5 separate regions of the Homo sapiens genome follow, and regions 1, 2, 3 and 4 are each linked to region 5. Evidence: promoter capture Hi-C in 16 types of primary human blood cells and fetal thymus (Javierre and others, 2016). All regions are on one chromosome and are shown on one strand. The core of a region is centred on a gene start or on the middle of the fragment in contact, and the rest is flanking DNA. Distances in the headings are between cores, read along the strand shown. Region 1 has its middle 12 kb from the start of TXLNG. Region 2 has its middle 14 kb from the start of GEMIN8. Region 3 overlaps LOC124905249 (a long non-coding RNA gene). Region 4 overlaps CTPS2 (CTP synthase 2). Region 5 holds the start of PIGA (phosphatidylinositol glycan anchor biosynthesis class A).

The links. Contacts are between HindIII fragments. The CHiCAGO score rates a contact against its expected background, and 5 or more counts as called.
Region 1: a fragment that was not itself captured here is called in contact with the fragment with the promoter of PIGA in region 5 in 1 of 17 cell types (naive CD4 T cells); the score reaches 5.1 in naive CD4 T cells.
Region 2: a contact is called between a fragment that was not itself captured here and the fragment with the promoter of PIGA in region 5, in 4 of 17 cell types (M0 macrophages, activated CD4 T cells, neutrophils and 1 more). The highest score is 7.1, in M0 macrophages.
Region 3: a contact is called between a fragment that was not itself captured here and the fragment with the promoter of PIGA in region 5, in 1 of 17 cell types (naive CD8 T cells). The highest score is 5.2, in naive CD8 T cells.
Region 4: a fragment that was not itself captured here is called in contact with the fragment with the promoter of PIGA in region 5 in 1 of 17 cell types (non-activated CD4 T cells); the score reaches 6.8 in non-activated CD4 T cells.

What each region holds. Positions count from the first base shown.
Region 1 is chrX:16,771,828-16,776,969 of GRCh38, reverse strand. No RefSeq gene overlaps it. Among named protein-coding and RNA genes, the nearest start is that of TXLNG, 12 kb to the left of the region's middle. RefSeq lists enhancers at 4,441-4,966, 4,967-5,142. The HindIII fragment of the contact is 6,934 bases long and covers 1-5,116 here.
Region 2 is chrX:14,042,053-14,046,648 of GRCh38, reverse strand. No RefSeq gene overlaps it. Among named protein-coding and RNA genes, the nearest start is that of GEMIN8, 14 kb to the right of the region's middle. The HindIII fragment of the contact is 2,451 bases long and covers 576-3,026 here.
Region 3 is chrX:16,439,716-16,444,786 of GRCh38, reverse strand. The region is part of intron 1 of LOC124905249 (a long non-coding RNA gene); the gene reads left to right. Among named protein-coding and RNA genes, the nearest start is that of MIR548AM, 180 kb to the left of the region's middle. The HindIII fragment of the contact is 5,651 bases long and covers 294-5,071 here.
Region 4 is chrX:16,610,033-16,614,865 of GRCh38, reverse strand. The region is part of intron 16 of CTPS2 (CTP synthase 2); the gene reads left to right. Among named protein-coding and RNA genes, the nearest start is that of MIR548AM, 15 kb to the left of the region's middle. The HindIII fragment of the contact is 1,894 bases long and covers 2,627-4,520 here.
Region 5 is chrX:15,332,197-15,337,154 of GRCh38, reverse strand. PIGA (phosphatidylinositol glycan anchor biosynthesis class A) reads left to right here and starts at 1,632. Exons shown (of 6, transcript NM_002641.4): 1 at 1,632-1,654. RefSeq lists enhancers at 1,701-1,780, 1,831-1,880. The HindIII fragment of the contact is 3,001 bases long and covers 236-3,236 here.

The DNA.
Region 1 (5,142 bases), core at 400-2,899, 1.4 Mb before region 5:
AACCTGGGAGGTGGAGGTTGCAGTGAACTGAGATCGCACCACCGACAGAGCAAGAATCCGTCTCAAGAAAAAGAAAAAAGAGAAGAGAAGAGAAGAAAAGAGAAGAGAAAAGAAAGGGGAACCATCCTGGCCAACCTGGTGAAACCCCGTCTCTACTAAAAATACAAAAAATTAGCCAGGCATAGTGGTGGAAGCCTGTAATCTCAGCTACTCGGGAGGCTGAGGCAGTAGAATCCCTTGAACCCAGGAGGCAGAGGTTGCAGTGAGCTGAGATTGTGCCACTGCACTCTATCCTGGGCGACAGAGTGAGACTCAAAAAAAAAAAAAAAAAAGAAAAAAGAAAGAAAAAAGAAAAAGAAAGAAATCAGCATCCAGTTTAAACCACTGTAATTCTGGATTTTTCTGTCACTTGCCATCAAGCTGATTCTGAAATCACAGAAAGATATATATAGATTTGCTTCTAGGGAAGAGGGTCTATGCTTTTTCACTCACAGTCACACACACACACACACACACACACACACACACACACACAGATGCTCACTTCCTCCCATCATCACATCATCCTCTCTAAATGGTTGTTTTCATTTTGTTAATTTAATATCTTAATTTTTTTTACATTATTTTCATGTAGATATTATTCACAACCTAGTTGTATAGTATCCTATTAATAATTTCTTTTTTATGTTTCTTTTTTCTTTTTTTAAAATTGAGATAGGGTCTTGCTCTGTTGCCCAGGCTGGTCTCAAACTCCTGGACTCAAGTGATCCTCCCACCTCAGTGGGAGCCACGGTGCCCTGCTCCATGTTTCTTATCTTTTCTCTTCTATTTTCCTATATCCTGTTTTGCTACAGACAGTTCCAGGGTTACAATTTTTGATGTTGCGATGGTGCCAAAGTTGTATGAATTTGACTTTGAGTACCCATACAACCATTCTGTTTTTCACTTTCAGTACAAGTATTCAATAAAGCACATGAGATATTCAACACTTTATTATAAAACAGCTTTGTGTTTGATGATTTTGACCAACTGTAGGCTAATATAAGTATTATGAGCTTGGCCAGGAGTAGTGGCTTACGCCTGTAATCCCAGTACTTTGGGAGGCCGAGGTGGGCAGATCACCTGAGGTCAGGAGTTCGAGACACACCTGGCTAACATGGTGAAACCCCATCTCTACTAAAATACAAAAATTAGCCGGGCGTGGTGGCTGGCGCCTGTAATCCCAGCTACTTGGGAGGCTGAGGCACGCGAATCACTTGAACCTGGGAGGCAGAGGTTGCAGTGAGCCGAGATCGTCTCACTGCACTCCAGCCCGGGCAATAGAGCAAGACTCCGTCTCAAAAAAACAAAGTATTATGAGCTTACATTAAGGTAGGCTAGGCTAAGTTATGATGTTTGGTAGGTTAAGTGTATTTTTTTTTTTTCCGAGATGGAGTCTTGCTCTGTCTTGCCCAAGCTGGAGTGCAGTGTCACCATCTTGGCTCACTGTGGCCTCCACCTCCCAGGTTCAAGCAATTCTTCTATCTCAGCCTCCCGAGTAGCTGAGACTACAGGCATGTGCCACTACACCTGGCTAATTTTGTATTTTTAGTAGAGAAGGGGTTTCACCATGTTGGCCAGGCTGGTCTCGAACTCCTGACCTCAGGTGATCCACCCGCCTTGGCCTCTCAAAGTGCTGGGGTTACAGGCATGAGCCACCACGCCCGGCCAGGTTAAGTGTATTAAATGCATTTTCCACTTATGATATTTTCAACTTCTGATGGGTTTATTGGAACATAACGCCATCATAAGTCAGGAAACATCTGTACTTTGTAGATGATCTCAACTTTGTCTTCTAATACTACTAATGAAGTTTTGATCAATGTCATATTTTATTTACTTTTTATTTAATTATTAATTTGTGAGACAAGTCTTGCTCTGTCACCAAGGCTGGAGTGCAGTGGTGTGATCATAGCTCACTGCAGCCTCTACCTCCAGGGCTCAAGTTGAGGCAGGAAAATAGGATCTGGAGGTAGGGAATATAAGGCCGATTCACACTTCAGCTATGACAGGAAATAGCCTCTCCATAGGGCGTAGGCCAAGTAAATGATTGTAACTTTACTTTATCCTCTTCATTTACATAGGGCATACCTCAAGTAGAGGTTATTTTTAAACTCCCAAAAATTCTGAAACAGGGCCTTTGAGCTATGCTTGGGCCTGCTCAAACCCTGTGGAGTGTACTTTCATTTTCAATAAATCCCTTCATTCCTTCCTTGCTTTGTGCGTTTTGTCTAATTCTTTGCTCAAGACGCCAAGAACCTGGACACTCTTCCCGGGTAGCAAAGTGATCCTCCCACCTCAGCCTCCCAAATAGCTGGGACTAGAGGCATGCACCACCATGCCTGGCTAATTTTTATTTATTTATTTCATTTTATTGGTAGAGACTTGGTGTTACTATGTTGCCCAGGCTGGTCTTGAACTCCTGGGCTCAAAGGATCCTCCCTCCTTGGCCTTCCAAAGTGCTGGGATTGGTGTGAGCCACTGCCCCCAGTCTGCAGGACAATTCTTTTTTTTTTTTTTTTTGAGACAGAGTTTCACTCTTGTTGCTCAGGCTGGAGTGCAATGGCCCCATCTTGGCTCACTGCAACCTCTGCCTCCTGGGGTCAAGCAATTCTCCTGCCTCAGCCTCCCAAGTAGTTGGGATTACAGGCATGCACCACCACCACGCTTGGCTAATTTTGTATTCTTAGTAGAGACGGGGTTTCACCATGTTGTTCAGGCTGGTCTTGAACTCCTGACATCAGGTGATCCTCCTGCCTTGGCATCCCAAAGTGCTGGGATTACAGGCGTGAGCCACCACGCCAGGCTGACAATTCTTGAAGAGTAAATAGCTTTTCCCATCAAAAGGAATCAAGATTCCTTGAAGAAATGCCTGCTTCCAGGTCTGAGGAAAGGAAATGTAAATTATTACCGATTTTTCTTATTTTTCCTACTATGTTAAGCACAGAAATTCCCAAAAACATAACCACAAATAGTTAAAAAAATATATAAAAAAAAGATGGCCAAGTGCGGGTGGCTCACGTCTGTACTCCCAGCACTTTGGGAGGCCAAGGCGGGCGGATCACCTGAGGTCGGGAGTTCGAGACCAGCCTGACCAACATGGAGAAACCCCGTCTCTACTAAAAATACAAAATTGGCCCGGTGTGGTGGCACATGCCTGTAATCTCAGCTACTTGGGAGGCTGAGGCAGGAGAATCGCTTGAACCCGGGAGGCGGAGGTTGCGGAGAGCCGAGATCACGCCATTGCACTCCAACCTGGGCAACAAGAGCGAAACTCCGTCTCAAAAAAAAAAAAAAAAAAAGATATAGCCGCCATTTTGGTGTAAGCCTCCCGAGTCTTTTCTATGCATATGAGGCAGGAGAATAGGGTCCGGAGGCAGGGAACCTAAGGCCGATTCAAGCTGGCTTTCTAGAACTAAGTCAATGGCCGGGCGCGGTGGCTCACGCCTGTAATCCCAGCACTTTGGGAGGCCGAGGCAGGCAGATCACCTGAGGTCGGGAGTTTGAGACCAGCCTGACCAATATGGAGAAACCCTGTCTCTACTAAAAATACAAAATTAGCCGGGCATGGTGGCGCATACCTGTAATCCCAGCTACTCAGGAGGCTGAGGCAGGAGAAGCGCTTGAACCCGGGAGGCGGAGGTTGCGGTGAGCCGAGATCGTGCCATTGCACTCCAGCCTGGGCAATAAGAGTGAAGTCCGTCTCAAAAAAAAAAAAAAAAAAAACTAAGTCAAAAGGAACATCCCAACTTTCCACAGGTAAATAACAAAAGGATTGTAAACTACTCCCTTTGCAAATCCACCCCACCCCCACCCCACCTTTCTGTGCGGCAGATGGAAAATTGAAAGCATTTCTGATTGGTTGCCTTCTTTTCTTTCTTTCTTTTTTTTTTTTTTTTTTTTTTAGGGGGGTGGGGAAGTTGTCTACCTCTGTGGCCCAGGCTGGAGTGCAGTGGCACGATCTTGGCTCACTGCAATCTCTGCCTCCCAGGTTCAGGCGATTTTTGTGCCTCAGCCTCTCAAGTAGCTGGAATTACAGGCACGTGCCACCACGCCCAGCTAAATTTTTTATTTTTAGTAGAGATAATTCCTCATGTTGGCCAGACTGGTCTCAAACTCCTGACCTCAGGTGATCCACCCGCCTTGGCCTCCCAAAGTGCCGGGGTTCCAGGCGTGAACCACCACGCCCAGCCTGATTGGTTGCTTTCTGTAGCCAATCAGACGTTTGCATAGGAGTGAGTGTAACTTTGTAACTACACTTCATCCTCTGATTGGTTGCTTTCCACAACCAAACAGACTGATTGCAGGCCGCTATTTCATTTACATAGGGTGTACACCATGTAACCAATGGGAAACCCCTAGAGGGTATTTAAATTCCAGAAAATTCTGGGGCTCTTGAGCCCCTGTACTAGGCCTGCTCCAGCCTTGTGGAATGTACTTTTGTTTTCAGTAAATCTCTGCTTTTGTTGCTTCATTCTTTCCTTGCTTTGTGCGTTTTGTCCAATTCTTTGTTCAAAACGCCAAGAACGTGGACACCCTCCACCGGTAACACAAAAGCATGCCCAACACACACATACACGGGCATTTTTGGAAGAAAAAGTGTAATCGTATTAAATATTTTTGTAAATTGCCTTTTATATTTCATTTAACATTATATTGTGAACCTTCTCTTATGTCAAATGTAGCGCTTGGACGTCATTTTTGAAAGCATTCAAGAAATCCTTTATCCAAAAGAAATCACAGTCAGGGCATCGGTGAACAAAACAAATTGGTTGAGTTTCCCGGGTGGACTCTGGACTGGGCCTTTTCCCTACCTTGCAGGCTGCAGCCATGCTTGGGAGCTACGGCATTAATCTATAGGGCAATGACTCAGCTTCATTTGCATAACCATGGTGCACTGCATGCAATATATTTACAAGTTAAAAGCCGTAGGTGTCCTTTAAACCTGCTGTTTTGAAGAATGATACTTTTCCTTACACATTCGCCTGAAAGAAGTGCTGTATGTATTTGAGCTGGGCTTAATTTCACCCTCAGTGTACCAGAGGTGGCTGTTACCTGGCAACTGCCTTTCCAAGCTTGCTGTTGTTTTTTCTTGTTTTTAGA
Region 2 (4,596 bases), core at 552-3,051, 1.3 Mb after region 5:
TTTCTCACATTACATCCTGAGCCCTCTTCTCTCTTCTCCCTACAGTCTCCCTTGAAATCTCATTCTTTCCCATAACTTTGACTCCTTCTGTAGTAGTAAGTCCCAGATTTCTATTTCCAACACAGAGCTTTTTTTTCCCCGAATTTCAAACTCCTGTTGCTATCTGCTTCTTGTTAATAATAAATATAAAGTTTACAAATAAACCGTGTTAATCAGAAAACCAAGCACCACATATTCTCACTTATAAGTGGGAGCTGAACAATGAGGACACATGGACACAGGGAGGAGAACAATACACTGGGGCCTGTCGGGGCATGGGGCCGAGAGCATTAGGGAAAAGAGCTAATGCATGCTGGGCTTAATATCTAGGTGATGGGTTGATAGGTACAGCAAACCACCATGGCACATGTTTACCTATGTAACAAATCTGCACATCATGCACGTGTACCCTAGAGCTTTCAAAAATAATAATAAAATAATAAATAAATAAACTGTGCTCATTGCTGTTAAGCACTTTCCCTTAGAACCTGTACTTAAAAGAATCTCTTTGACTTTTATTTGGCTGAATACAAGCTTTTTATTTGAATACTCCAACCCAATACAATTGTCAAGCTAGTGGTGAGCTGGGGGAGGAAAGTGAAAAGTGGGAGAAGGAATTTAACAGTGTGCTGTGTAACTATCTCCTCTGAATTCCCACTTAAAATTGAAAGCATGTACATGTTCAAAGACAACTCCAGCCTCCAACCCCTTTTTCTCTTCTCCCACTGAACCACGGAATATGAACTCAGATTATCAAGAGATATATCAAACAAATTATCTCAGGGATACTGACAAAAGGCCATAAATGCCCCAGAACAGAAAGACACATATTGTGGTAATAATTTGCACTGTATTAATGCTCCAAATGCATTATCCCATTTAAACCTCCCATCAACTCCAAAGTGGGTGCTAATAATATCTGCATTTTCACATGGGATTCAGGCAAGAATACATTCAGTAAATTGCTCAAGATTACACAGTTAGGAAGTAGAGAAATAAGACTTTGAATGCAGTCAGACTCTAGAGCCTCACTCTGTAGATCAGGGTTCCTTTACCTCAGCACTAGTGACTTTTGGAGCCAGATAATTCTTTGCTATGGCTCTGTCCTGTGCATTGTAGGATGTTGAGCAGCATCCCTGGCCTCTACCCAGTAGATGTCAAAAACAACTCCCCAGCAGTAACAATCAAAAACATCTCCAACATTGACAAATGTCTCCTGGTGGGAAAAAATTGCCTCCAGTTGAGAAATACTGCTATAGATGGGGCAGGGGGAAACTTGCTTAGAGATTAAATACATTGCCAATCTATGACAACTGGTAAATAGCCCAATCTGCATTCAAACTGAGAATGACCTGACTCCATATGCCATTATGCTATATTGATCAACTTGGCAAAAATAAAACAAAATGAAACAAGAGCAAAAAAAAACAGATAGGAATAAAATAAAACAAATAAACTATTATTTTGGAATGATTTGCTTCCATTTAAAGAAAAAGAAACAGAAACAGTCCCTAAAGACTGTTTAAGAAAAAGACTGTTAATGATTGTTAAAGAAAGAGTCCCTGAAATACTTAAACTTAACTAAGAGTAAGCAGAGATGTTCTATAAAGTAGTATTTCTCAAAGTTGGCTACATATTAGAACTATCTAGTGAGCTTTAAAAGTACGGATATCTGGGCCTCATCCCCAAGAGATTCTAGTTTAATTGGTCTGGAATGTGACCTGGGTTTGGGATTTTTAAAAGCTGTTCAAGTGTTTCCAATATGAATTCAAAGCTAAGAACCACTGCTGTAAAGGATTCAACTAGTATTTTATTTCTATGGGTCTTATCAATCATGCATATTAAATTGATTACATACATTTAGTTTAATAGAAAACCAATGGATACCTAATAAATTGAGAGCGTACATTACCCTTAACATTCACTGAGCTACTGATCACCAAATTTGTAGATGTTTATAGGATCATATAGCCAGAAGAGAAAGTATTCTCTAGTTCCTAACCTTTGGACCATCTTGTCCCCCATCATCATTTCCAACAAAAAATTAGCCAAAATTTGAAAGGGTACTGTTATTTCATGATTATTCACAGTGCTTTCAAAGTGTGATGGAAGAATATTTTTTCAGTTATTGGGTAAAATGTGATTTTGGAATGGTTTCAAGACTCTAAACACTTTATTTTGGCTTATTCCAATATGTGTGATTAAGTAATTTTTCTAAACATTAACCTTGTCACTACTACCATGAATAATTCAGAATTCAATAGATACATTCATTTCTAATATGTAATATGTTCAGATAACAATAAGACACCTTAGGTTTTCATTACTGTAGCCGTCAAACTACGGAAGTGATAACATTTGCTTAAATGGCTTTCTATAACAATGACCAGCAAATCTAGCCTAATGTAGACAACACTGTTATTCACTCCAAATATACTCCCTTTCCTTCCATAGACAGTCTATGCCTGCACATGGCAAGCAATAAAACAGTATGAACATTCAGATAATTTATCCAGTGTTGATGATCATTTCTAATTACACTGTACAATAATTTGTCCAGTGATTAGCATTGATTATTACAAAATGGTCACTTCTCAAACATTAATCTAAGCTGACAGGCTCAGAACACAATACCCCAAAATACAGTAGCTTGGCAATTGAGAAAATGGCAGAAGCAGGAAGGTCTCTCTCATCTTCTCCCACCATTCTCCCCTGAAACAGGCCATAGAATCTAGGAAGGTCAGTCTCTGACCCTCTCCTTCCTTTCTCCCCTGAAGACCCTCATATGACAGGTGTCCTGCCCTATACCTAGAGGAAAGAAATGTTACACAGAGAGGCCAAAAAGAATCTGAACAAACAGGCCTTGCTAAGTTCCCCCAAATTTACTACCACTATGTCATATTATTTTGTCCTCCAATCACACTTCTGCATGACTGTCCACAAAAATATGGTTTTCCCTTAGTCTCTGGGTTTTCATTTCTGAAGCTTCCTGTGTTATGTAAAATTTATATTGAGTAAACTTGCTATGCTTTTCTCTTTTTAATCTGTCATTTGTTATTGGGGTTTCAGCCATGAAGGAACCCAAAATATTTCTGTCTAAAACACTGAGGACTATTGACCTGAAGAAGGTTAAAACACCAGAGGACACTCTGCCCCTCCCTCTGCCTGCCTGATGACAGGAGAGCAATTTACAAAGACAAAGGTCTTCCTGTCCTCCTCCCTGACTTTTCCTGCCTACACTTGCTCATCAGCTGAGAGATAACAGTGCCAGAGGACCTAGGAACAAACTTGACTCTTCCCATAAGTTTACCTTCCCACATTTGCCCACCTTTTGGAAGCCTGAAAATGCTCTCTTCTTTGTCTTGTCACTATAGGATTTAAGGCTGTTTGTTGAAATACTATTTAAGCAAGTCCCCTAAGCCACTGCCTTAAGAGAGAAATACTTTTGAACAGAGGCCTCTCCCAAGTGATGGGTACAGCACGTGTCAATAAACTTCTGCTGGTTTTTCTCTTGTTAACGTGACTTTCGTTTTCAGGAGTGTCTCAACTAAGAGAGGGGTAAAAATAAGAAATTATATTTTCTCCCCTATAGTCATGAACCTTATAATGAGTGAGGAAAGACACTCCTTCTCCCCTACAAAGTGTAGATGACTTTTTATACATTGATCCTTGGAATCTGTAAGGTTCTTGAGAATTAAGCAATAGAAACCAAAAATTATGTCCCATTACAAGTTATCTTCCAACCACCATTCTGAAGATTAGGAGGTGGGTTTGCTTATTCGTTTTGTGGTTACTGCAAATTTTGTTGGGTATTTTTTTTGTTTTTTGGAAGAAAGAGAAGGCTTGGAAGTGTAATAAATTTTCCCAAGCCCTGGAAGTGCATAAATACTTTCAAGAGCAGGGTGAAGCTCAACAAATTATAGTATAAACTCTCTTCAATAAAATACCCACACATCCACTGTGGCTAAGGTTGAACTGGAGTCTTATTTTAGACAGCAGAACTAAAAGAAAATAGCACTCACCCTGGGTAGCAGAAATGCCTGAATTTATATAACACCTATATTCACAGAGTTAATGTACAATTTAGTGAAATTAAATTAATTAATTTTTAATTGCACAGAGGGTCCACTCTACTCCTATTTTTAATTCTTTTGTAGGAAGGAAAAAAAAAGGCTCCAGTGAGTTGTAATTGTGCCACTGCCCTCCAGCCTGGGCAAAAGAGTAAGAGCTTATCTCTAAATAAATAAATAGGCCAGGCAGGCATGGTGGCTCATGACTGTAATCCCAACACTTTTAGAGGCCAAGGTGGGCAGATTGCTTGAGCCCAGAAGTTCGATACCAGCCTGGGAAACATGGCAAAAACTCATCTCTACCAAAAATGCAAAAATTAGCTGGGCGTAGTGGTGTATGCCTGTGGTCCCAGCTACTTGGGAGGCTGAGGTGGGAGGATCACTTGACCCTAGGAGTTCGAGGCTGCAGTGAGCCGTAATCATGCCACTACACTCCAGCCTGGGTGACACAGCAAGACTCTATCTCAAAAAAATTTTTTTAATTAAA
Region 3 (5,071 bases), core at 1,870-4,369, 1.1 Mb before region 5:
GCTCACTGGGGCATATCCACTCTTGAGGCTCTTGGGACCCTGCCGCTGCTGTCGTGTGAGGAAGCCCAAGCTAGCCTGCTGAATGATGAGAGATCCGTGACCCCAGGGGCTCCTATTACCTCAGCTGACAGCCAGCCAACTTCCAGAAGCTGAGACACCTAGTTGACCAGCAGCCAACTGGCACGGCTTAACTCAGTATAGCAGAAGACCAGCAAAAGAAAGGCCCAGCCCAAATTGCCAACCCACAGAATTGCGAGTCACGTAGTTGGCTGTAGTTTTTAGGTCACTAAGCTTAGGGTGGACTGTTACGCAGCAAAAGCTAATGAAAACACAGATGGATGAGACATAGTTCTTGCCTTCAGGACTCCACAGCCTAAGAGACCAATAATTTGCTCCCAAGGCAGGCTGCTTGTGTAATTGGACCCTTAGAGCCATACGAGACAGTAATAGCAGTCACGTTCGTTTTTCACTCCTGGAATACTAGTTAAAAGCATGAACTTGAAAACCAAAGCGCTTGAACTTAAATCCCAGCTCCATCACTTACTAGCTGTGTGACTCTGTGTAGGTTCCTTAATCTTTGTGTCTCTATTTTCTCGAAAAGGGATAATGATAGAACCTACCTCATGGAGTTGTTGAGGGGATTAATAGGTACACATTTCTTATGATAGGGTCTATGATTTAGTAAGTGTTTTGAAAGTACTAGCAATATATGTTTGGTCTAAAATGGAATCAGCATTAAAGTGTTTTCTTTTTGAATAACACCTTCCACTACATATAATAGTAATACATGTTCTTTGTGAAAAGCTGAAAAAAATACAGGAAAACTATAAAGAAGAGAACAAATGTCATCCCTTAGATTTTGTGCCAACTTTAGAAATAACACATTTTATTTTAAATCAAGCTACTATGATCAGCTTTGGAGAAAGGTCATTCAAGATACTCAGGGAATAAAGGTATCAAGTGCTTAGCCGAGTGAAGCCCTTTATATAGACTTTGCTCAGTGTACATTTCTCCAGTTGGATTGAAAGAGATCAAGTAGTTCCTTGTCCTATAGCATCTGGGATATAATTTGCAGATCCCAATGGACTAAATTAAACATTGGAGCAAAGTGCAAAGGAAAACCAGAAAGGAAGGCAATGATTAGCAACTCTGGACCCATGGAGCATTTCTAACTAAGGAGTATGTTCTTATTTTATTTTTATTCATATTATTTTTAATAAATCATAATTGTACATATTTATAGGGTATAATGTGATGTTTTGATGTATGTATACAATATGGGATAATTAAATCAAGATAATCAAGATGAATTAACATATCCATCACCTCACTTATCATTTTTTGTTGTGTGACATTTGAAATTTACTCTTACTTTGAAATATACATTATTATTGACTATAGTCACCCTGCTGTGCAATAGATCTCAAAACTTAGTCCTTCTGTCTATCTGAAATTTTGTACCCTTTGACCAACAGCTCCCCATTCTCTCTTTTCCTCTACCACTGGTCCCTGGTAACCATCATTCTACTTTCTACTTCCGTGAGTTTAACTTTTTAGGATTCCACATATAAATGAGATCACATGGTATTTATTTTTCTGCACTGGCTTATTTCACTTAGCATAATGTCCTCCAAGTTCATCCATGTTGTTGCAAATGACAGAATTTCCTTCTTTTCATGGCTGAATAATATTCCATTGTGTATATATACCACATTGTAATTATCCATTCGTCTGTTGATGGATACTTAGGTTGATTCCATATCTTGGCTATTGTGGACAGTGCTGCAATAAACATGGGAGTGCAGATATCCGTTTGACATATTGATTTCAATTCTTTTGGCAATATACCCAGAAGTGGGATTACTGGATCATATGGTAGTTCTAGTTTTAGTTTTTTGAGGAACCTCCATACCATTTTCCATGATGGCTATACTAATTTACATTTCCACCAACAATGTAAAGGCATCCTCTTTCTCTATATCCTCACCAACACTTGTTATTCTCTATATTTTTGAGAAAAGCCATTTAAGGCTTGTTCTTATATGCTGCCTCTCTTGATGTGCAAGGCTGTTTAAGTTTGAAACGGCACTTGTTATTAAACTGACTTTTGCAGAAGCAGAAGTTGTATCTTAGAATGGTGTAGTAGCTGGCCAATGTAACACAGGTAGTGATTAGTGGAGCTGGGTCCAGGCCACTGACCTAACATCCAGTGGTCTTTTGTGTTTGGCTTCTTTTACTAGCATAATGTTTCTGAGATTCATCCAAGTTGTAGCATGTATCAGTGCTTTGTCCCTTTTTATTGCTGAATGGTACTGTGTTGTATGAATATACCACAGTTTATTTATCGATGAACATTTTGATTGCTTCTACAAGTCTTGTAGAGACATATGTCTTCTATAAACATACATCTTCATTCATTTCCCTTAGGTAGATACTTAGGAGTGGAATTGTTGGGTCATATGGTGACTCTCTGACATTTTGAGAAACTACAAGACTGTTTTCCAAAATAAGTGTACTATTTTACAATCTTGGTAGCAATGTATGAGGATTTCCAGTTTCTTCACATCCTCATCTATACTTGTTACTGTTTGTCTTTTAAATTATAACTATTCTAGTGGTTGTGAAATGCTATTTTATTTTGGTTTTGACTTGCATTTTCCTAATGCCTAATGTTGTTGAGTATCTTTTCATCTGCTTATTAGCTATTTGTATATATTTTTGGTAAAATGTTTTTTCAAATCTTTTGCCTATTTAAAAATTTGCTTATTTTTCTTCTTTCAAATTATTTGTTGTATAAAAACTCAACATGAATAAAGGACTGGGAAAGAGAGAATGGCAACTTGGAGAACCTGGTGGTTAGATATACCTATAGCATGAATCTTATTAGAAGGCTAAAGAGGTAGGCATGGTCCTGACCTTGTAGAATTGCACTATCCAGTATGGTGGCTGCTAACCACATGACATGATGGATTATGGAGCATGTCAAAGGTGGCTAGTCCAATTTGAGTTGTGCTGTAAGGGTAAAACGCACACCAGATTTTAAAGACTTGCTATGAAAAACTGAATGTAAAGCATCTCATCAATAATTTTTGAATTATTACATATTAAGATGATACTATTTTGAAAATATTGACTAAAATAAAATACAGTATTAAAATTAATTCTATTTTTTAAAATAAAAAATGGCTACTATGAAATTTAAAATTACATACATGGCTCCCAATATATTTCCATTACATAGCAATGTTCTAGAACCTTGACCATCAGTAAATTAGATCTTGATATGTAGAGAAATGGGAAGGCTTTGATAGGTTTTAAGCATGAGGAAATTATGACCGCTTTTTAAAAAAGAGATTACTTTCAATGCACTGTGGTGAATAGATTGGAGAGGACAGGGAATGGCTGGCCAGGAAATGGAGTAGGCAGCTTTGCAGTAGTCTAGATGATGGATGATAGTCACTTGATAGTGATACAGAACTCAATAGTCACTTCATAGGGAAAAACAGCGTTCTGTTCAATATCTCAAATCTACTCAGAATTTTGTAGAAAATACTAAACATTTATGTGTCTCTCAGGGCTAATATCATCTGGAATATACTTTCAGAGGGAGCTACTTAAAATTCTAGACTCTTCTGTGTCTAAGGTGAAGACCACAGGTTACCTGGATCACATACCCTTGTAGGGAAGAGCCACTTAAATAGCAACTCTATACTATGCAAAATGTGGTGCTAGATCATGGTAAAGATTTGGCTTTGACCCTGAGTGAGGGGAACCATTGGAGGCTTTGGAGCACACGAGTGATGTGACCATCAGGTCATTGCTTGTTAATTGGATAACACTGGCCACTGCACTGAGAATAGACTGAAGGGAGTGAGGGTGGGAGAGGGAGGGCCCTGCGATTTAAGCAATTCTTTATTGTTAGGCATTTTCATTGTTTCTAATTTTCTCTAATTTTAAACAACAGAGTAATCAATGTTGTGCAAAATTTTATTACATCCTTCATTCATTTTCTTAAGATAAATTCCAAGAAAAGTGGCAGTTGTGGTCAATGGGGACATCTGTTATTACAGCTTTTGATATATCTTGCCAAATTGCCTTCTAGAAATTTGGACACAGCTTAAATTGCCACTGCTGTGTAGGAGAGTGTCTGCTTCCTTCTTCTTGTGCCAGCCCTTGGCAATGTTACTATTTCTTAAACTTAATCAAGCAAGAGTTCCAAGTATGCCTTTAAAATAATTCTCATATGAATTAGTCCACATTTTTCTTCATGAAACACTTCTCCCCATTGTGTCCTAGTTCAGCTATTTTATTAAACTTTAGGTAAATTATATATTCAATCATTTCAGGCTAGTGATGACAATTTATTAAATTTTTTCTGTTCCTAAAGGTGGGAGGATCTTGTCAAACTGGCACATAATTTGATTTCTACTTCTTTAATATTTTTAAAAGGAATGAAATGATAAACCCAAAATAAGTAGAGAAAAGCAAGCTCTGAACACTTTTTTTGAACTTGTGAGATATTAAACTTTTGGTAAATTTCTAATCGAGGCACGTATACACCATGGAATACTATGCAGCCATAAAAAAGAATGAGTTCATGTCCTTTGCAGGGACATGGATGAAGCTGGAAGCCATCATTCTCAGCAAACTAACACAGGAACAGAAAACCAAACACTGCACGTTCTCACTTATAAGGGGGAGTTGAACAATGCGAACACATGGACACAGGGAAGGGAACATCACACACTGGGGCCTGTTGGCGGGGGCGGGGGAGGGGGGCAAGAGGAGCGAGAGCATTAGGACAAATACCTAATGCATGCAGGGCTTTAAACCTAGATAATGGGTTGATAGGTGCAGCAAACCACCATAGCACATGTATGCCTATGTAACAAACCTGCACATTCTGCACATGTATCCCAGAACTTAAAGTAAAATAAATAAATTAAAAAAGCAATCTAGACTTACCTGTTGGGAGAAAAAGCATAAAGGTAAATAAACTATGTTTATAAATATGCATGCATGTATTTAAGTATAAGTTCTATTTCTCTCTGTTCCCTGGAAAGTCACAGGT
Region 4 (4,833 bases), core at 2,324-4,823, 1.3 Mb before region 5:
TTTTTGCCATGTTGCTCAGGCTGGTCTCACCTGGGCTCAAGGCCTCTTCCTTCCTCAGCCTCCCAAAGTGCTGGGATTACAGGCATGAGCCACCATGCGCAGCCAATTTTTAAATTTTTTTTGTAGCGGCAGGGTTTTGCCATGTTGCTCAGGCTGGTCTCACCTGGGCTCAAGGCCTCTTCCCTCCTTAGCCTCCCAAAGTGCTGAGATTACAGGCATGAGCAACTGCACCTGGCCCATGGCTGTTTTTTATGCTACCATGGCAGAGATGAGTAGTTAAGAAAGAGACCTTATGGCTCACAAAGCCTGAAATATTTACCTTTTATAGAATATTGGCCCTTTACAGAAACATTTGCTAACTCCTGGGCTAGACTCACACATATACACTTCATTTAACTAACTTGAATTTAACATTTTCACGTGCCTCCTTGACCTGTTTGTGTATTTGGATGTTGTGTTGCCACTTCCATCTCAACTTATTTAAAACTAAATTTACATGGTCTCCCAATTAGTTCATTCTCCTGTTTCTGTTAAGATATCATCAATATCCTTGTCCAGGGTTTCTCAGCCTTGCCACTATTGATTGACATTTGGAGTGGAATAATTCTTTGTCGTGGAGGCTGTCCTGTGCACTGTATAGCAAGCTTGTCCAACCCACAGTCCGTGGGCTGCATGCAGCCCAGGGTGGATTTGAATGTGGCCCAACACAATTTCGTAAACTTTCTTAAAACATTATGAGATTTTTTTGCAATTTTTTTTTAAGCTCATCAGCTATCATTAGTGTTAGTGTATTTTATGTATGGTCCAAGACAATTCATCTTCTTCCAGTGTGGCCCAGGGAAGCCAAAAGATTGGACACCCCTGTTGTAGAGTGTTTGGCAGCATTCCTAGCCTCTACTCACTGCCACTATCATCCCTACCTCCCACGTTGTGACAACCCAAAATATCTCCAGACATCATCAAATGCCCCTGGAGAGCCAGGTGCAGTGGCTCACGCCTGTAATCCCAACGCTTTGGGAGGCGAAGGTCGGAAGATCACTTGAAGCCAGAAGTTCGAGACCAGCGTGGGCAACATAGTGAGATCCTGTCTCTACAAAAAACTAAATAATTAGCTGGGCATGGTGGTTCGTGCCTGTGGTCCCAGCTACTTAGGAGGCTGAGGTAGGAGGTTGAGCCTGGGAAGTTGAGGCTGCAGTGAGCCATGATCATGCCACTGCACTTCAGCCTGGGTGACAGAACAAGACCCTATCTTAAAAAAAAAAAGGCAAGTCCCTGGGGGGCACATTTGGTGGAGAACCATTCTCCTAGACTATCAGGCTAGAAATTTCACATATTAGCTCTTCTTCCCCTTCAGATCCCAACTAGCAGTGTGTTGTCAAGTCCTGCAGATTCTGCCTCTGGAAAGAAAGCTGGTGTTTAGAATTGCACTGCCATCCCTAGAACACTAGTCCCAGTGCATGCCAACTCCAGCTCACACTTGTCCTCAATCTCCTTCCTGCTTCCAAGCCATCCCTTCTCCAATACCTCCTAACAAGAACAGAACTCTGCAGTGTGTGACACTAATTTGTTGGATAAACCACTCTCATATATTGAGTACTAAGGGTGTGCAGGATACTGTAAAAATGGTACCGTGATGTTCCAGAACCTGCATTTCCAGCCTATATGCTTTAGGCTCCAGATAAATTGGATTGCCTGTGCGTCTTCTAACCTCCCTCTTCTTTCTCCGTCTTAGCTCATATCACTATTCTCCATTTCAAATGCCTTTTCTCTGTCTCTTTTCCTTTTTGTCTCTAATCTGTTCAAGTACTTCCAGAGTCCCGAGCAGAGGGGAGAATTGAAGTCCAAGAAGGCTCCTTTGAACGTTGTAGCATTTTACCTAGACCTGAAAGAAGGAAAGCAATGGACATTCAGTGTGCACTTACTGGATGCTTGTCACTAGACCTCTTGCTAGGGACTTTGCATACCTTATGTAACTAACAAAGCAGATGATGCTATTCCCACTTTACAGAGGACACCGGAGTGCAAAGAGGTTAAATGACATGCCCAGGGCCATCCAGCTAGTCCTTTGCAGCAAGAGCAAACCCAGTTGGTTACCTCCTTCTGCCACCACTGCTGTGGGATTTCATTGTTTCTCTTGTTTTCACGTTCTACCTAAGATGATCAATTCATGCCTAGAGTTTTGAATTAGAATAGTAAGTACGCATTTCCAGGAGTCTTTCTGATGGAAATGCCCATCATTTAGAATTAAAGTGTGGATCGCTGTTGGTATTGAAGCCTCTTAAATCTTCCTAGCATGTGAGAAGGCAGAAAATTTCTTAAGCAAATTACTATTTGTTTACTTTGTTTAAGTACTTATTCACTTTTAATTCTTCTGGTTGTCATTATTGTCATCAAATACTTAGAAGGTTCTTTCATCATAAGGATTTAGATTCCCACTGGGGCTTTCAAATTTCATGTGGATTGAAAAGGAAATGAGAGCTGCTATAAAACCTTGCAGTTTTTAAAAGCGGACTGCAAGCAGTTATTAAGGAAAATTCCCCAGAAGATTTTGATCTTAGATACCCCTTGGAAACATATCCACGAATCTCCACTGTTCCTGAAGGGTTCTGAGAGGAACAACAAAGCTTGAGATTAATATTATATAATGTCAGAATTTGGTTTAAAGCAATCAACAGCATTATTTTAAAGATAATTTTATCTAACTGATAGAACATCATCAAAATAAAAACTTTTTACTTTCTCCTCATATTGGCATAGAGGATTTTTTGGATAAAGTGATTCAGAGCAATGATCCATTCATTCACATAGTCTGTCCCTGGCTATTACATGATTACATTGCTCAGCATCTGTCTGTAGTGATACAAAAGCACAGTTACTGTCTGCTTTTTTTTCAAAGATGTCCCTAGATGTTATGCAGTAAGATTTATTGTCTCTTAAATTTTAAGCTACATTGCTTAATTTCTTCTCTAAGTGCGGATGATTTCTCTGCGTTTCTTGAGGGAATACATTCCTGGGAGAAGGTGGCATTCCCCTTATCAGGCTTTCTTACCTGCATATTCCTCTAATTCAAGGAGGTTTCTTCTTAGATGTAGAGGATTTCTACACTGGATTTTTCTGGGATCAGAGCTGTCCTATAGAACTCACTGGATTTTTCTGGGATCAGAGCTGTCCTATAGAACTCACTGCAATGATAGAACTAGTCCACCCTATCCAATATGGTAGCCACTAGCCACATGTAACTTTGAACATGTTTCAAATGCTGAATTAATGTTAATGAATTTAAGTAGCTACATATGGCTAGTGGCTACCATTTTCTATAGCAGAGCTTTTTTTTTTTTTTTTTAATAATTTCAACTTTCATTTTGGATGCAGGGAGTACATGCGCAGTTTTTTTTGTTTGTTTGTTTTTGTTTTTGAGATAGGGTCTCACCCTGTCACCCAGGCTGGAGTGCAGTGGTATTATCATGGCTCATGGCAACCTCCACCTCCTGGGCTGAAGCGATCCTCCCATCTCAGCCTCCCAAGTAGCTGGAACCACAGGTGCACGCCACCACGCCCAGCTAATTTTTGTATTTTTTGTACAGACAGGGTTTCACCATATTGCCCCGGCTGGTCTCGAGCTCCTAGGCTCAAGAAATCTGCCCACCTTGGCCTCCCAGAGTGCTGGGATTACAGGCATGAGTTACTGTGCTTGGCCCACGTGCAGATTTGTTACATGGTTATATTGTGTGATGCTAAGGTTTAGGGTATGGATCCCATCACCCAAGTACTGACTAGAGTACCCAACAGATAGTTTTTCAACTCTTGCACTCCCCTTTCCTTCCTCCCTCTGGTAGTTCCCAGTGTCTATTGTTCCCATCTTTATGTCCATAAGTACCCAATGTTTAGCTCCCATTTATAAGTGAGAACATGCAGTATTTGGTTTTCTGTTTCCGTGTTAATTCGTTTAGAATAATGGCCCCCAGCTGCATCCATGTTGCTGCAAAGGACATGGTTTCGTTTTTATGGCTGCATACTATTCCATGGTATATATGTGCCACATTTTCTTTATCCATTCCACCATTGATAGGCATCTAGTTGATTCCATGGCTTTGCTATTGTGAATACTGCTGCCATGAACATGTAAGTGCATGTGTCTTTTTTGTAGAATGATTTATTTTCCTTTGGGTATATACCCAGTAATGGGATTACTGAGTTGAATGGTAATTCTGGTTTAAGTTCTTTGAGAAATCTCCAAACTGCTTTCCACAGTGGCTGAAATAACTTACATTCCCACCAACAGTATGTTTTCTTTTCTCCACAGCCTTGCCAGCATCTGCTGTTTTTTGACTTTTTTAATAATAGCTGTTCTAGCAGGGCTTTAAATGATTACCTTAAGAAAGTAGACATTTGCATTCAATCATCATTTCCTTATTACTGTAGTAGTAGCTTTGGATCTTTGCTGGTAAGTGATGGGAATTTGTGATTTTGAATTCCATACTAGATTTTAGATCATTTGATAAAGCACCTCATTGAAAGCTTTAAAGTTATATTTACTTCCCCCTCTTAAACTTATTATATTTTATTATCTTTAGTTTGAGTCATAGCCAGGGACAGGATATTTGAATGAATGGATCATTGCTCTGAATCACTTTGTTCAAAAAATGCTCAGTTTTGTGGTGCTATGAGTAATACCCAACTTAAAGCTGTGACTAGAAAAGCAATTGTCCTCGTTGGGTTCCCAAGGGTAGCCCAATGGGTTGATATTGTGCTGGTTTATCCCAGGGGACACTTACCCTGGGAAAGGAGAAGACCTTGCAGGAAATGGCCTGAAGCCACCTAAAGAAAGAAAGA
Region 5 (4,958 bases), core at 383-2,882:
TTATATTTTGAAAAAAGATTCATGGTGGAATTTCAAACGTGTACTGTGATCAGAACTATGGCAGGGGCAAACCAGGGGCTCAATAAGTGAGGCTTAACCCTCATTTATACCTTCCAGGATTTCTACCCCCACTCTTTGTCTTAAAACCTATTACAAAAATGGAAAGGAGGCCAAATGCTGTACCTATCTGGTAATGTCGCTGTTATCTGTGAAACCAACTACAAATTATAAAGCTTAATTAAGTGTCCTTGAGTCTTCATCACTGTAATTCTCCGATGCTTCATCAATATTAACACAGGGCAAAGTATCGATTGCTACTCTAGTCTTACTCATCAACTCATTAATTCGCTTCAAATCTCACAACTAAAATGCTCTTTCAATGATGTTATTGCACTGTAATTTGTATAAGGTACACTCCACGAAATACTGTCAATACATTTTATTGTGAGCATCTAATATGTGTCAGGGAGTGTGCTGACATTGGGTAAAGAAATTCATGTATTAAACTAAAACTTCCTCAACATCCATTACCAAGAACAGATCCTGCCTCAGTTTACTATCTGGCAGGGAAGGCAGACATTTAACAAGCAAATACAATTTCCGTTTTCAGAAAGAAGTCCATGTGAGATCTCAAGAGACAAGTAATCAAGGATCAGGGTGAGGAGGGAGAATGCAATCAGGCAAACAACTTGAATATCATCTGATAAATGTTATACTTTGGCCAGCATGTGGCCAAAGTACTATTAAAATTAAAAAGTGAGAGTATTTCATTCTCTGGAGGCTTGGGGAAAGCATCAGAAAGGAGCAGACATTTTCAGGGATGAATAGGCTTACACTAGGCTTAATAAAATGGGTGCCAGTAACGGTGGCTGTGATGGTACTCAGAAAGGAATTTCTTCTCGAAAACGCACGTATGGCAGGGATGGGGGATTCCAAGTACCAGCTGTGACGCATGGATGACCGTCATACCACTCTCACTGATTCTTTAGCTTCCTAGTCAAGCACCATCGTAACTAGTTGAACCAGTCGAGTGGGAGTTGATATTTCAGATCAGACCTCGTATGTTTCCCTCAGAGTGTAGAATTGCCATATAAATAACAGGATGTCTAGTTAAATTTACATGTCCGATAAAAAACGAATGTGTAGTGAAGTCCCCAATATTTGGTACATGCTTGTATTAAACATCATTTGTGCTTTATCTGAAATTAAAACTTCATAGTTTCATCTGTTTTGACTTTTTGTGTATTTTTATTTATTTATCTGGCAAACGTCCCAGAGCGGTAAGAACCGGCACGGTTTTGCCGTGGCACAGCTGATTACAAACAAAAAGTCTCTCCAATCAGAAGCAAGCGCGCAGAGAACTGGCGTCCGGAATAGAGACGCTGTAACCAGGAAACCAGGGTGAGCACCCACCCTACCGTCGGCCGCTTCTAGGAGACGGGCGCAGGCGCGCGCTGACGTTACATCTCGCGCTTAAGGGTGGGGACGACAGAGCGTCTCTCTCGGACGTGACCTCAGCGCCTCTTTGTGATTGGCTGCCTCGGGGGCGCGGCCCTTGGGCGCGGACGCCCTAGATTGGTGCTGCGGAACAGCAGGGAGGGACTCCGGCTGCAGCCGCGGGAGGTCCGGACACTGGCGGCCATGGAACTCACCGGTGAGTGCGCGTCGCGCCGCCCCTCTCCAGCGCTCTGGGCCGCTTTCGGATGGGGCTGTTCTGCGCGCGTGGGATCGTGGCGGGTGGTGGAGGGGGTGAAACCGACCCGGTTCGAAGCCCGGAAGTTGGGTCGGAGGGTCTCCAGAGTAGGTTGGGGCTGAGGGTGCGTTTAGGGCGGACGCGCTGGGTTCCTTGGCTCAGGCGGGTGGGTCGAGGGACTGGGGTCTCCGGAACCCCGGGCCTGAGACCAACGTCCACTCTTTGGTTGTTTTCTTTCTCTCTTTGGGCCTGGCCATCCCCGCCATGAACCCAGCGGGGTCGCTGTCTGAGCAGGGGTATCCCCTCCTTGGCCCGAGCGTTTCCCCAGCGACCTCTCAGGGAATCAGGGAATGAAGCTCAGACAGTGCCCAGGAATTGTCGGTGGAAGTACCATTCTCTTGACCCACAACTCCTGCCAGGTCTCCCTAAGGTTCTTCAGGAACCTCTACTGCTAATGATTGCCCAGGGCTCGTTGGTCGTGGTCGAGAATTTTACGGTAATGTCTTTGCCACTTTAAGTGGCTGGGTGGGAACCTTGGACAAATCACTCAACTTGTCTGGGTTCTCATTTGTAAAACGAGAGAGGTATTCACTAGAGCTCCAAGCCTCATTTCGGCTTTAAGAGCTAAGATTCTGCGATTGTGCAGCATAATGAACTTTTATGTCAAAGATGTTTGGACTGAAAACCTGGCGGAAGTGGGCAGACTCCTCACAGAACGTTGCAGGCTAATGACAACATTTTAAATGATATCATTTGGTTCATTACTCACTGTTTTTGCTATCGTTCATCTTTTAAAACTGGTAGAACTGGAAGTTCGGGTTTAGGTGACCACAGTAAGAAAATGTTAGTTAAGCCACCTAAAAGTACAAACTTGGGGAATTTCAATATTTGGTAATATTGAATCTTAATTAGTAAACTCAGTCAACAAACACTTCTGGGGTCTTTCCGAGAGTATATTTAAAATGTAGATGAGGCCGGGCACGGTGGCTCACACCTGTAATCCCAGCACTTTGGGAGGCCGAGGCTGGTGGATCACCTGAGGTCAGGGGTTCGAGACCAGCCTGGCCAACATGATGAAACCCCGTCTCTACTAAAAATACAAAAATTAGCTGGGCTTGTGGTGTGCGCCTGTAATTCCAGCTATTCAGGAGGCTGAAGTGGGAGAATCGCTTGAACTCGGGAGGCAGAGGCTGCAGTGAGACGAGATCGCTCCACTGCACACTAGCCTGGGCAACAGAGTGAGACTCCGTCTCAAAAAAAAAAAAAAAAAAAAAAAGTAGATGAATTTGTTGGAGAGACTAGACAGTTAAGCCTTTGCACATACAGTTAATTGGCATTTTCTGAGTTTGCAGGTGAAACCGGAAACTCAGAGCTTTAGGATGGCTTCTCATTGTATAGTTGTTTGTTTTCTGGAGCCTTGGAAATCTCATTTGTAAAGCTGAGGAAGATTTTGACTAGATATCCAAGATTCTTTTTAGCTTTAAGTGTCTAAGAATGTACAGTAGTACTAAATATTGAGTGGGCATTTCACATTAATAAAGCTTTAGGGGACCCCTGAGATAAACATTTCGCACTTTAAATTGAGAAAATGGTCCCAGATACAGCCCATCTCTAGTTTAGCCTTTATCTTTAGACACCGCACTGAAGGGAGGGACACTCATTGAGTTTGAAAGGCCTGCATAACTGATAGAAAAGTTTAAAAAGTGAAGGGAGCAGTTACATAATCACCCTCTTTGGTTTTTGTGTTTCTGTTTTTTGTTTTTGTTTTGTTTTGTTTTTTTGAGATGGAGTCTCGCTGTGTCACCCTGGCTGGAGTGCAGCGGCGCGATCTCGGCTCACTGCAACTTCGGACTCCCGGGTTCAAGCGGTTCTCCTGCCTCAGCCTCCCGAGTAGCTAGGACCACAGGCAGGCACCACCACGCCCAGCTAATTTTTGTATTTTTAATAGAGATGAGGTTTCTTCATGTTGGCCAGGCTGGTCTTGAACTCCTGACCTCAGGTGATCCACCCACCTCAGCCTCCCAAAGTGCTAGGATTACAGGCGTGAGCCACCGCACCCGGCCTAAATAATCACCCTCTTTGAATAAGGAAGGAGAACATGTGTGCAGCATGTGCTCTGGTGACATTTGAAAAAGGTGCTCTCAAAAAGATAGTTCGAGCTCCGGGTGTGTTTTAGTGTAAACCACAAAGGTAATGCTAGCAAAACTTTGAGAGTAATTGAATCAGTGGCTAAGCTATAGAGCAGGGGTTGGCAAACTTTAGTAGAGGACCAGATGGTAAATATTTTCAGCTCTGTGGGTCATATGGTCTCTGTTGTAGCTACTCTGCTCTTGTAGCACAAAAGTAGCCATTCACATAAATGAATGGGCACACCTATGAGCCTATAAAACTTTACAAAAACAGGCAGTGGACCAGTATAACCGAGTTTGGATCCTGGCCTGTTTTAGTTGTCTGTTATTTTTTACCAAACCACCCCAAGACGATGTAAAACAATAGCCATTTTGGTATGTTTCATGATACTGCAGTGAGCTAGGCTCAGCTGGGTGGTTCTCTTGGTCTTGCCAGTGGTCACTAGGAGGCTGCATTTAGCTGGTAAGTTGGCTGGATGGCTGGGCCTCTGGCTCTTTCCATGTAGTCTCAGAGCTCTTCCTTCTCCATATTATCTCTTCCCTTGTCCCTCTAGCACAGTAGATGGATTCCTTACACTTTGGCTTAGGATATCTAAGAGTGCACAAGTGAAAACCACCACACCTTGGAAATCACCACACCTTTTTTAGGCCGAGGCCAAAAATTTGCACATCACTTTCACTACCTTCTATGGGCTAAACCAGGTCCAAATGCAACGGGAAGGGACTATACTATAGAAGGGCATAAATACCAGAAGACATGACCGCTAATGAATCAGACTGCTACATTGTGTTACCTCTAAGCACTGAATAACTGAACAAATTTCTTAACCCCTTTAAGCTTTAGACTTTCCATTTATAAGATGGAGTTGATAACTCATGGAGTTTTGGTGAGGCTGCAATAAGATATAGAAGAGTCTTAGCATGTAGTAGCTGATGTATAGTGGCCATTTAATAAGTATTAATAGAAGCTGGTAAAGTATAAGAGTAAAGGGGAAATATATAAATGTGTGTATGTATGTGTGTATATATACTTAATTATTGGAAGAGACTGGTTTGTTAACGTGGTAAACCATGATATGCTGTGGTGTAACAAACTTACTATTTAAAGTTACATGTAGCAGTATTTTTAGGGCAAA